Linked DNA regions of Homo sapiens: region 2 is linked to region 1. The links are contacts of gene promoters, found by promoter capture Hi-C in blood cells and fetal thymus (Javierre and others, 2016). All regions are on one chromosome and are shown on one strand. Each heading gives the region's core, a stretch centred on a gene start or on the middle of the fragment in contact. The rest is flanking DNA. Distances are from core to core; before and after follow the strand shown.

Region 1 (5,712 bases), core at 1,202-3,701:
CCCAGTCTATACATTAAAAAAAAAAAAAAAAAAAAAAAAAAAAAACATCTAGTCTGGAGAAGTCACTGGGATTCCTTGAGAGGCCCACCTGTGTAGAGGATGGTTCCAAAATATCCTTCAAAGAGAAACATGACAGAACCAGGACAGTGATTGGCATCGAGGAGGGTTACGGTCATGGTCTCTTGTCCAATTTCATCTAGGGGTAATACATGGCTCTCACCAACCTCCAGGGCTTGGATCCATTGCTTAGATACCTGAGAAAACAGTTAGTCATCCCAGTGACCACTGACTCCTCTCCGTTACCTCCCCGGGTCAGGGACTATCCCTTACATGAATCAGGAAAGCTGACCAAATCCTGAGCCACCGGGAGCAGAAGCTGTAATGGGGATTCCCAAGCAATCTGCCCTTCCTCCTTCCACTTCCCATCCCACCCTTTGTACAATTTAAGAGTTCAGCTGGCCGGGCGTGGTGGCTCACGCCTGTAATCCCAGCACTTTGGGAGGCTGAGGCGGGTGGATCACGAGGTCAGGAGATCGAGACCATCCTGGCTAACACGGTGAAACCCCGTCTCTACTAAAAAATACAAAAAAAATTAGCCAGGCGTGGTGGCGGGCGCCTGTAGTCCCAGCTACTCGGGAGGCTGAGGCAGGAGAATGGCGTGAACCCGGGAGGCGGAGCTTGCAGTGAGCCGAGTTTGCGCCACTGCACTCCAGCCTGGGCGACAGAGCGAGACTCCATCTCAAAAAAAAAAAAAGAGTTCAGCAAACAGTCTAGTCAGCAATTCCCAAACTTACTCCTGATCTTAATCTCTTGGAGACTTAAGGGTGGGGTGGGGAGAGAGCTGGAGAACCACCCAGCACATTAGGTGGATTCTTAAGATGAGGCAAGTTTAGGCGGGGCGTGGTGGCTCACGCTTGTAATCCCAGCACTTGGGGAGGCTGAGGCGGGCGGATCACTTAAGGTCAGGAGTTAGAGAACAGCCTGGCCAACATGGTGAAACCCCGTCTCCACAAAAAATACAAAAAATTAGCTGGGCGTGGTGGCGTGCGCCTGTAATCTCAGCTACTCAGGAGGCCGAGACAGGAGAATCGCTTGAACCCGGGAGGCGGAGGCTGCAGTGAGCCGAGATTGCGCCACTGCACTCCAGCCTGGGCAACAGAGCGAGACTCCGTCTCAAAAAAAAAAAAAAAAAAAAAAAAAAAAGGCAAGTTTGGGAAACATCGGCCTAGCTTACTTATAAAGGTAGGAATAGTTTCCTTGGCTGGATTAAAATATCTCCTCAACTTATGGCTAACTATCTCAAGTTGGTCACTTCGAAAACACGTTCCTATTCTGGGTTAAAGATGCATTTTTGGGTTCAAACAACTTCCAAATCAGTTTTCGTGGCCCCCATTCTATGACTCCAAGAATGACAGGTTGAAGTCCCAACCCAGATGCCTGGACCAGCTCTCGGAGACCGACTCCAGCCCCATACCTGTAGGTGACGATGCAAGAGGTGGGCTGTAATTGGGGAGCAGTAGAGGGGCCGGGCCCAGGTGCTAGACAGGCCCACGGTGTGGTCCGAGTGCATGTGAGACAAGAAGAAGAGACGTGCGGTGCCAGCCCGGCGCAGGCTCCAGAAGTCCACTGCGATGGGCGTATGGGGGATCAGGACCCCATTCATGGTGGTAGGGTTGGAGTCACCAGTGGGATCTTCTCCACGGGGGCAGGGCTCCTGCGTGAGGCTTCCACAACGGCGTCCCGATAAAAGTCATGCTGGGGCAAGAACAGGGCCAGAGACCCTAAGGGAAAGAGCCCAGCAGAGCAATAAGTTACCAGAGTGGGCAGAAAAAGGAAGTCACCCTGCCCGCTGGAGCCCAAATCGCGGAGGGCGCTGGACACTCCCAACCGCGCGGGAGCGGAGGCCGAGCCGGGCACTCAAAGCGCGCGCTGCAGGGAGGAGACAGGCCAAAGTAGCCGATTTCCGATTGCCCGCCGCAGCTCCACCAGAGGGAGCCGCGCAGCTGCGCCTGGAGAGTGAGAGGTTGGGGGAAGGGCATCCTAAGGTCGGAGTCGGGACTACGCTTAGCGCTCGCTCGCGGGGAGACCGGCAGCGGTCTTCTGTTTGGTCTCTTGACAAGGGGGCGGGACTTCCGCAGAAAGCAAGATTGGGCCTATCCGCGATGAGAACGGCGTGGAGGGGGAATTAAGGCTGGAACTGGAGAGGGAGGGGTCTGCGGTCAGTCGGACGCGGCGCTGGAAATCCGGCGGAGGACCTAGAAGTAGCGGGAGCGATCTGTGGGCGGGGCGAACGGCCTGCCGGCCGACGGTAGGGCCTGAAGAGCCTAGGGTGGGGCTCGCGGTGTCGCGGAGGGCGTGGAAGTGTGTCAGGGCCAGCGTGCCGGCCCTACGGAAGCCGAGCCTGAGGCGAGATCTCGCCTTTTGTATTTTCACTGACTCATATTTCCTTTACTCAGGCTCCCACATCAGGACGAGAAGGAGCCCTCGAGTTACCGTGGGAGCTGTGGGAGCTGCCCTGTGACTCTTAGGAAGATGCCGTACCTTGGCTCCGAGGACGTGGTGAAGGAGCTGAAGAAGGCTCTGTGCAATCCTCACATTCAAGCTGATAGGCTGCGCTACCGGAATGTCATCCAGCGAGTGATTAGGTATCACCTACCTCCCTTCGCGTGCTAACTGCTCCCTTTGCAATCCCCATCAGGGCTCACTAGCCCCAGTCTCTCTGAAAGGGTGAATTAGCTTTCACACGTGGCAGTTATATGGTTCGGTCTTCGTCCTGCTGCTTTGGAGTACCATGTCAGTCTCCCCTCTGCAGCATCTTTTACTCAGCTGGGTAGTTTCCTCCATATCACGGGCTTGAGCAATTACTGGTGACTCTTGGATCTATAATATAGCTAGTACAGACTTCCTTTTTTAGCTTCAGACCCACGTATCCCACTGCCTGCTTGGCATTTCCACGTGCGTGGTTTATCAAAAGTATGTCCGAAATAGCCCGGACATTCTTCCGTCTTCCTCAAACCTGTTCAGCTTACATTTGTGTTGATGAATGCCACCAGCAGCCGACTATGCGTGGGAGCCAACCTTGAGGACACCTGATCTCTCACTTCTTATGTCAGATGGTTTGAATTCATAATTCTAAATATCCATCCTCTCTTGTTTATTAGCATTGTTGTTCTGGTCCAGGCCTTCATCAATAAAGCAATTGCAGCAGCTTACTAGTAGGCCACTTTGCCTCATTTGAGACAGAATTTTTCCATTATACATACCTGAACACATAACTCTTGCCTACAGCTATGGTTCACAAACTTTACTATGCATAAAAATCCCTTGGGGTGCTTTTTGTCATCCAGTCCAGGGACTGATTCTGATTTCAGTAGGGTGGGAGGGAACCCAGGAATCTGTATTTTTAATAAACATTTCAGTTGGTTCCAGTAGGAGACCAGTCTGAGAAACAATAAAGTCCAAACTTATCACAGCACCCAAGGAACAAGCTGTTAATTCAACTACCTACAGACTCTTAAAAAAATGTGTGCTGCTCCTGCTCATGTCTACTTACCTCATAGCATGTATCTTTACCTTGCTATTACATCTGCCTAGTGAGCTCCTGCTCATTCAGCTAAAGTATTACTTCCTCTGTGAAGAAACATTTTCTGACTTCCTGCCAGTGTCAGACCTCTGAATCCCCTCTACACCTTGTACAATACTTCTGTTTAAGTACTTATCTATCATACTGTAATTAACGGTATTCTCATCTGGCTCATTAATAGATTTGAAGTTCCTAGAGGTTTGAGACCACACCTTCTTCAAGATTATGTCCCAAGAGCATGTCCCTGGATGTAAAAGTTGAATTTCACCAAAGTACTAGGGATTCAATAAGTGTTTGTTGAGGCTGGGTGCGGTGGCTCACGCTGGTAATCCCAGCACTTTGGGAGGCCAAGGCGGGTGGATCACCTGCAGTCAGGAGTTCGAGACCAGCCTGGCCAACATGGAGAAACCCCGTCTCTACTAAAAATACAAAAATTAGCTGGGCGTGGTGGCACGCACCTGTAGTCCCAGCTACTCGGGAGGCTGAGGCAGGAGAATCGCTTGAACCTGGGAAGCGGAGCTTATAATGAGCCGAGATTGTGCCACTGCACTCTAGCCTGGGTAACAGAGCAAGACTCTGTCTCAAAAATAATAATAAGTGTTTGTTGAATGAATAGAAGAATAATGTTTATTGTAGGCCTATGGTATGAAGTACTGTGTGATATAATAGACAAGGTAATCCTGGCTGCTACCCTCTAAGAGATCACAATCTAGTTGGGTAATCAGGAGATATGTAAGTAAAACTCCCTCCATTGTAAGTTGGGGATTTTGCATTTTACTTCCTTCTGTCATGTGCGTTGTTCAGGTACATGACTCAAGGCTTGGACATGTCTGGTGTTTTTATGGAAATGGTGAAGGCCAGTGCCACTGTAGATATTGTCCAGAAGAAGTTGGTTTATCTGTACATGTGCACATATGCTCCCCTGAAACCAGATCTGGCTCTCCTGGCCATCAATACGCTGTGCAAAGACTGCTCAGACCCCAATCCAATGGTGCGAGGGCTGGCGTTACGGAGCATGTGTAGCCTCAGGTGAGTACCCTCTTCTCTGTCTGGTCCTAAATGGCTGATGAATTCAAGTGATCACAGGGTAGGTTTTTAAAGAGGATAATTTATTTGAGCTCCTTAATACTGGGGAAAACATTATTGTACCCTGAACTCAGATTTTCAGCCACTGCTTTGGCTTAATAACCTGTATCATATAATTTTATTAGAGGGAGTTTTTGATTCTCACTCTAAGTAAAATAGTCCTCAGTTTTGGTTAAATATCTCTAAACAATTATGTGTATATCTTTTTTTGCTGCCTGTGCATCATTATTCCAAATGAAAAGTCAAATTAGGCTGGGCACAGTGGCTCATGCCTGTAGACCCAGCACTTTGGGAGGCTTAGACAGGAAGATTGCTTGAGCCCAGGAATTTGAGACCAGCTGGGCAAGATGGTGAGAGCCTATATCTACAAAAAATTAAATGGGCATGGTGACACGCACCTGTAGTCTCAGCTACTAGGAAGGCTGAGGCAGGAGGATGGCTTGGGCCCGGGAATTCAAGGCAGCAGTGAGCTATGATCGGGCCACTGGGTGACAAAGTGAGACCCCATCTTGAAAAAAACAAGAAAAAAACAGAAAAGTCAAATTATGGCTTTTTAAGCTTGATAGAGGCTTTCTGCAATTCTTCATGATCTGATGGGTGCAGCATCTACTAAACCATCTGTTAGGTGAACAGGGGCTGAGGTATGTCAAAATTAGTATTTCAGAATCTGGCTAACTCCAGGATGTGTTGCTTAGGATGCCTGGTGTGCAGGAGTATATACAACAGCCTATTCTCAATGGTCTGCGGGATAAGGCTTCATATGTCAGGAGAGTGGCAGTCCTTGGATGTGCCAAGATGCATAATCTTCATGGAGACTCTGAAGTAGGTAAGTTCAGTGTAATCCATCATGGTCAATGTGCCTCCATTATGTATAACTTTAAAAAAGATTGTGTGGCTTTGGTAGAAAATAATAATGTGGCCCCAGTTCTGTACATATCTCTTTAAGTAGGATGCAGGGCTTGGTATCTTCTGGAGATGAGAAGTCCTTTCTCTGGGGCCCCAATGAGATCCTTTGTATTAGCTGCTTAGAACAGTCTGGACAT
Region 2 (5,712 bases), core at 1,848-4,347, 790 kb after region 1:
TTGTCCAGGCTAGAGTACAGTGGCTATTCATAGGTGCACTCACAGCACAATACAGCCTCGAACTCCTGGCCTCAAGTAATCCTGCTTCAGCCTCGTGGGTAGATGGGACTACAGGCATGCCACCATGCCTGGCTCCTAGCTACCCTTTAAACTTTACTGAATGTCTACCTGTCAGGAAGAGAAACCAGCCTCCCTTGGATGTGGTCTGAAGGATGCCCACGCCTGAAAAGGGTAAGAAAGAGATACCTGAAAAAAGTTTGCAGAATATCCCTTTCCTATAATTACACAAGTTTGGGAGCCTCTGCTGTGTACTCTGATCTCTTGTTTAATGTGTTTCTCCACTCTGTAAGATGATTTTCATATCCTTTTAAGACTTTAGTCAATTTTCATCCTATTTTGCATGTGGCTAAATGCTTTCATTAGGTATCTTACTTTAAAATATTGCTTCAGATTAATGGAGAAACTACACACTGAAAAGTAAACTCAATAGAATAGGCTGAAATTGTAACCATAAACAACAGAGTCATTACCGTCAGTGCCTTTGTGTATATATCCATTGGCAGGAGGCATAAGTTGCTGATGACTGCCTGCCTCAGAGTTGCTGTAGCCTTCCTGTGGCTCAGACAGCGTTCCTTGGGAAGACAAGTAGCTGGGAATGTCTGCAGGCAGATTGAGCTCCTCTGTAAAAGAGACATTTTTAACTCTCAAAGGTAGGCAGTTGAAGCCAACACTCAGAAGACTATTTTGCAAATGTGTTCCACTTTGATACTATTAGCAAGAAAAACTGTACGTACCTAGGACCGCAACAGCTCTTGGTACTTCCCCTAAAACTATTTCTCACTAGAATTCTTCTCAAAGCTTCACTTTAAAAGTTTCATTGAAAGAAACAAAACCTAAAGGTTGAAATCTTATCTACTGCCACACTTTCATAATCTATCTGCCTAGATTTCTTTTCTTGCAGGATTCCAGGGTGAGAGGTGTAAAAGACTGACCTCAATGATCCAGTTTGATATTCAAGGGAAAAAAAGAGACTGATCTCAATCACAAGGGCTCCACTCTTCCTTACAGCAAAATTATGATGAAAAGGAGCCTTAGACATTAAAAAGAATGCATCTGTAATGCGTTTTTAGAAGTAAAGTTTGGCCGGGCGTGGTGGCTCACGCTTGTAATCCCAGCCCTCTGGGAGGCCAAGGTGGGTGGATCACGAGGTCAAAAGATTGAGACCATCCTGTTCAACATGGTGAAACCCCGTCTCAACTAAAAATACAAAAATTAGCTGGGCATGGTGGCACACGCCTGTAGTCCCAGCTACTCGGGAGGCTGAGTCAGGAGAATCGCTTGAACCCGGGAAGTGGAAGTTGCATTGAGCCAAGATCATGCCGCTGCACTCCAGCCTGGCAACAGAGCGAGACTCTATCTCAAAAAAAAAAAAAAAAATTTACAAATTCTTAAAATTGGTCAGACGCAGTGGCTCATGCCTGTAATCCCAGCACTTTGAGAGGCCAAGGTGGACAAATTGCTAGAGCCCAGGAGTTTGAGACCAGCTTGGGCAACATGGCAAAACCCGACTCTACTAAAAATATAAAAACTTAGGCGCGGTGGCACATGCCTATAGTCCCCGCTTCTCAGAAGGCCGAGATGGGAGAATCACCTGAGCCTGGGAAGTCAACGCTGCAGTGAGCCATGAATGTACCGATACACTCTGACCTGGGCATTACAGTAACACCCTATCTCAAATAAACAAAATTCTTTCCTCAAAGAGGTTCTGTTATGAACCTATTCCTCAAAGAGGTTCTGTTATATCAAAGAAGTTGAACATTTTAACAACAAAAACTCCCTTCTATCACATATCAGGTAATGTATCACAGCTCTTCAGTTTTTTGAGGGGGAAGATGAGGTCTTGCTATGTTGCCCAGGTGGGCCTTGAACTCCTGGGCTCAAGCAGTCCTCCCACCTCATCCTCCTGAGTAGCTGGGAGTACAGGCATGTGCTACTATGACCAGCTCTCAGTTTTTTATATTGTACAATTAATCCTATACTACATTCTTGACTGAAGTACAAGCCATAGGTGTCATGTGGGTACTACTTACCTGTGTTTGTGATACTATAGTCTTCATTTTTCCTTCTCATGTGGTAAATAACAATGACCCAGATCAAAGAAGTGCCAACAACACAGCAGACCACAACAATGATGACAATGCCAACTGTGGTCCAGCCATCATCTTCATGCCCAATGCTACTCTGGGAAGAGTCACAATTGGGGGATGAAATGACATTTAGGTAAATGTGGCCACGTTCTGTCCCAAGGGTGTTAGACATAATGCAGGTATATTTCCCAGCATCTTCTAGCCCGGCATCTACAATGATGAGAAGCTGATTGGCTGCAGCAAAGAAATGTCGTTCTGTCACCAGCAAAGGCCCATCATCTTTAGTCCAGTTGAGACGAGGGGCAGGACTCCCTCCAGCTATGCACTGTAACACCGCAGTTTCACCTCGTGTTACTGTCTTATCCTCCAGGGGTCTAATAAATGAGGGTGTCTCTAACAGGAAAACATTAAAAAAAAAAAAAATGAAAAGTTAGGCAATTTTATTCCCTAATTTCTACTGAATTAGACCAATGGGGGTATAATAAAATGAGTAATTTTATATACTCATGGGAGGATTAGAAGTTAATGTTTCAGAACAAAATCCTGAAAAAAGCCTCAATCTTTTCTCGATAATTCCAGCTTAGGCAAGCTATCCTAAGAAAGAAGTTCAGGGCAGCTGCAATAGCTGGAGGGGGTGAGCAGCGGTGACCCATTAAAAAAGATTAAAAATAACTTAAAAAAAAAGAAATTCAAAGATTTATACGCAAAGATGTTTACTACAAAATGTGTAACTTTAAAGAATAAAGAAAAACATTTTTAAATCTAGCAGAAAAATGATTAAGTAAATTATAGTCACATGATCTTTTACAAAGACTTTAATAACAAGGCAACTTGTGGTACAATATTAAATGAAAAAAATGTAGGTATATTTGACTACATAAAAGTGAGAGGGGAAAGTCTAGAATATGCTAAAATCCTTAAGTATTTGAGTGACTTTCCTCCCCTTTTCCTAATTTTCTGTATATCTTAACATGTTAAAACAATAAATGACTTATTTTTCTAAGGCTGAGGCAGGCGGATCATGAGGTCAGGAGTTCGAGACCAGCCTGACCAACATGGTGAAACCCCGTCTCTAAAAAAAATACAAAAATTAGCTGGGCGCAGTGGTACATGCCTGTAGTACCAGCTACTCAGGAGGCTGAGGCAGGAGAATCACTTGAACCCGGGAAGTGGAGGTTGCTCTGAGCCGAGATTGCGCCACTGCATTCCAGCCTGGGCAACAGAATGAGACTCCGTCTCAAAATAAATAAATAAATAAATAAATAAATAAATAAATAAATAAATAAATAAATGACTTCTTATTTTTCTGGTTATACAAGTAAACAATACAAACCAACAAACTTAAAAAAAATAATAATAATAACTGACATATAGGAAAATAGAGAACTGGAAAGTAGAATTTACCCTGGATTTGAGTTCCACGAAGAAAAGTATTGTAATAAGGAAGAAAAAACAAAACAAACAAACAACAACAACAAAAAAAACCCAGGCCAGCAGGGGAAAATTTTTAGGAAAAAAGGCATTTTACCAGAAATAGGGTTAAGAAGAACACACTGAAAAGGAAAGCAGAAACTCTAACCAGAAAACACATCTTTTTTTTTTTTTTTTGTATTAAATTTTTTTTGAAAATGAACTAGGAGCAAACAGTTAAATAGTCTTAGGTTCCTATCAAGCAATAAGTGAAGCAGCATCAAATGGCTGGGATACTCCTAAAAGAACAGTGGAACTCTCAATGCAAACTCAGTGAATAGTAAACACACCTACATGAAACAGAAACCTTACAGAGAGGGACTTAAAAAGATAAGCTGATAAAGGAATTTGAACTTTCAATTATTGTGACAAGGATGCCTACCTAATTTTGCCCTATGTATTTTCCCACATTTCAGTTATCTGACCCACTAATTCCTAGACTGACATAACCTTGCATAAAATTGTGAAATAAGATAAAGATCTAAGAATCACAGAGGTAATCTCAAACTTATTTTTCTTGCTCATTAAGACCAAGAGTAGCTCCCAAAGACTCCAACAAAAGCAGGGACCCATGGAGCAGTAAACGTACCTAACACTGTTAGGGAAGCATTTGCTGAGAGACCTCCTGCTGTATTTTGTGCCATGCAGCTATAGATTCCCATATCTTCTATTTTCACATTGGCAATAAAGAAGACGTCATCCTCGGGCATGACGTGCATGCGTCTTTCTCGAGCCGCAGGAAAGTCAGTACCACCATCTTTCTGCCAGGAAATCTGAGGTGCAGGGTGTCCCTCTGCAGCACATTCTAATCTGGCCATGGCACCAGTGCGAATAGTCAGATCCATTGGCGTTTTCAGAAAAGATGGCATCTCTGTTTCCAGAAAAATCACCAAGAAAAAGTGGGCAAGGGAACAAAGACACATATATGCATACAAATAGGCATGAAAGAATCTAGTAGGCAAGACACCCCCTAATGTTCCATTTCTTTGTGAAGACAGGCTCTCTGATTGAGAGTGAATATAGTTTTATAAATTTAAAAAAACAAAAACAAACTTTAGAGATAGGGTCTTGCTCTGCTGTCCAGGCGGGAGTACACTGGCGCAATCATAGCTCACTGCAGCTTCAAATTCCAGGCCTCAAGCTATCCTCCCACCTTGGCCTCCCAAAGTGCTGGGACTACAAGCCTGAGCCACAGCACCCAGCCAAGAGTGAATATGGTTTTGAGAACATCTTTTCTTCCAGAACCTCAGAGTATTTGGAGCACACTGATGACTGTGTCTTCTAGGATGCATGATACACTTAATCATCAGCTGGAACTAGGGAAAGCAGAAGGCCACAAACCTTCTTTGAACTTCGTATTTTAGAACCTGGTATTTACTATGACTCTCTCACTTATGAAGCTAAATGATGCTTCCCTGGGAGGCTGAGGCAGGAGAATCACTTGAAACTAGGAGGCGAAGGCTGCAGTGAGCTGAGATCACACCACTGCACTCCAGCCTGCATGACAGAGTGAGAGTCCATCTCAAAAATGTTCCCAAACCAACATCTACAAAGCTATCAAGGAAACTGCATGCTAAAAAAACTTATGCCTTCAAAAGTATCATTAAAAAACACAGAAGCAAAACATAAGTACATCTTTTGGTTGTACAAACCCTAAAATGTTGTAGTTATTCAATTTAATAGGCAATAGATAAATCAAGCTGTTTTTAAGAAGCTTTTGCAGGAAAGAAGAGTATTCATTTTTAAAATGATCCTGTGTGGAGTGAAAAACCAAACACCATATGTTCTCACTTATAAGTGGGAGCTAAGTATGAGTACACAAAGGCATACAGAGTGGTATCATGGACGTTAGAGATTCAGAATGGAGAGGGTGAGCGGGGGCTAGGGATAAAAAACTACACATTAGATACTATGTACGCTACTCAGTGATGGGTGCACTAAATTCTCAGAATGCACCACTATAATTCATCCATGGGAAAAAAACTCACTTGTACCCCAAAAGGTACTGAAATAAGGCTGGGTGCAGTGGTTCATGCCTGTAATCCGAATACTTTGGGAGGCCAAGGCAGGCGGATCACTTGCGCTCAGGAGTCTG

The links. The method cuts DNA at HindIII sites, captures the fragments that hold promoters and counts their contacts. A CHiCAGO score of 5 or more calls a contact.
Region 2: a fragment that was not itself captured here is called in contact with the fragment with the promoter of AP4B1 in region 1 in 1 of 17 cell types (M2 macrophages); the score reaches 5.6 in M2 macrophages.

Annotation. Positions count from the first base shown.
Region 1 is chr1:113,901,538-113,907,249 of GRCh38, reverse strand. It overlaps AP4B1 (adaptor related protein complex 4 subunit beta 1), which reads left to right and starts at 2,451. Exons shown (of 10, transcript NM_001253852.3): 1 at 2,451-2,645; 2 at 4,388-4,612; 3 at 5,365-5,495. The coding sequence starts at 2,533. DCLRE1B (DNA cross-link repair 1B) reads right to left here and starts at 1,924. Exons shown (of 4, transcript NM_022836.4): 1 at 1,475-1,924; 2 at 89-254. The coding sequence starts at 1,663. RefSeq lists enhancers at 2,036-2,085, 2,116-2,675, 2,756-2,815. The HindIII fragment of the contact is 8,249 bases long and covers 1-5,229 here.
Region 2 is chr1:113,111,255-113,116,966 of GRCh38, reverse strand. LRIG2 (leucine rich repeats and immunoglobulin like domains 2) reads right to left here. Exons shown (of 18, transcript NM_014813.3): 14 at 4,207-4,488; 15 at 2,091-2,540; 16 at 531-680. Among named protein-coding and RNA genes, the nearest start is that of LRIG2, 41 kb to the right of the region's middle. The HindIII fragment of the contact is 4,473 bases long and covers 861-5,333 here.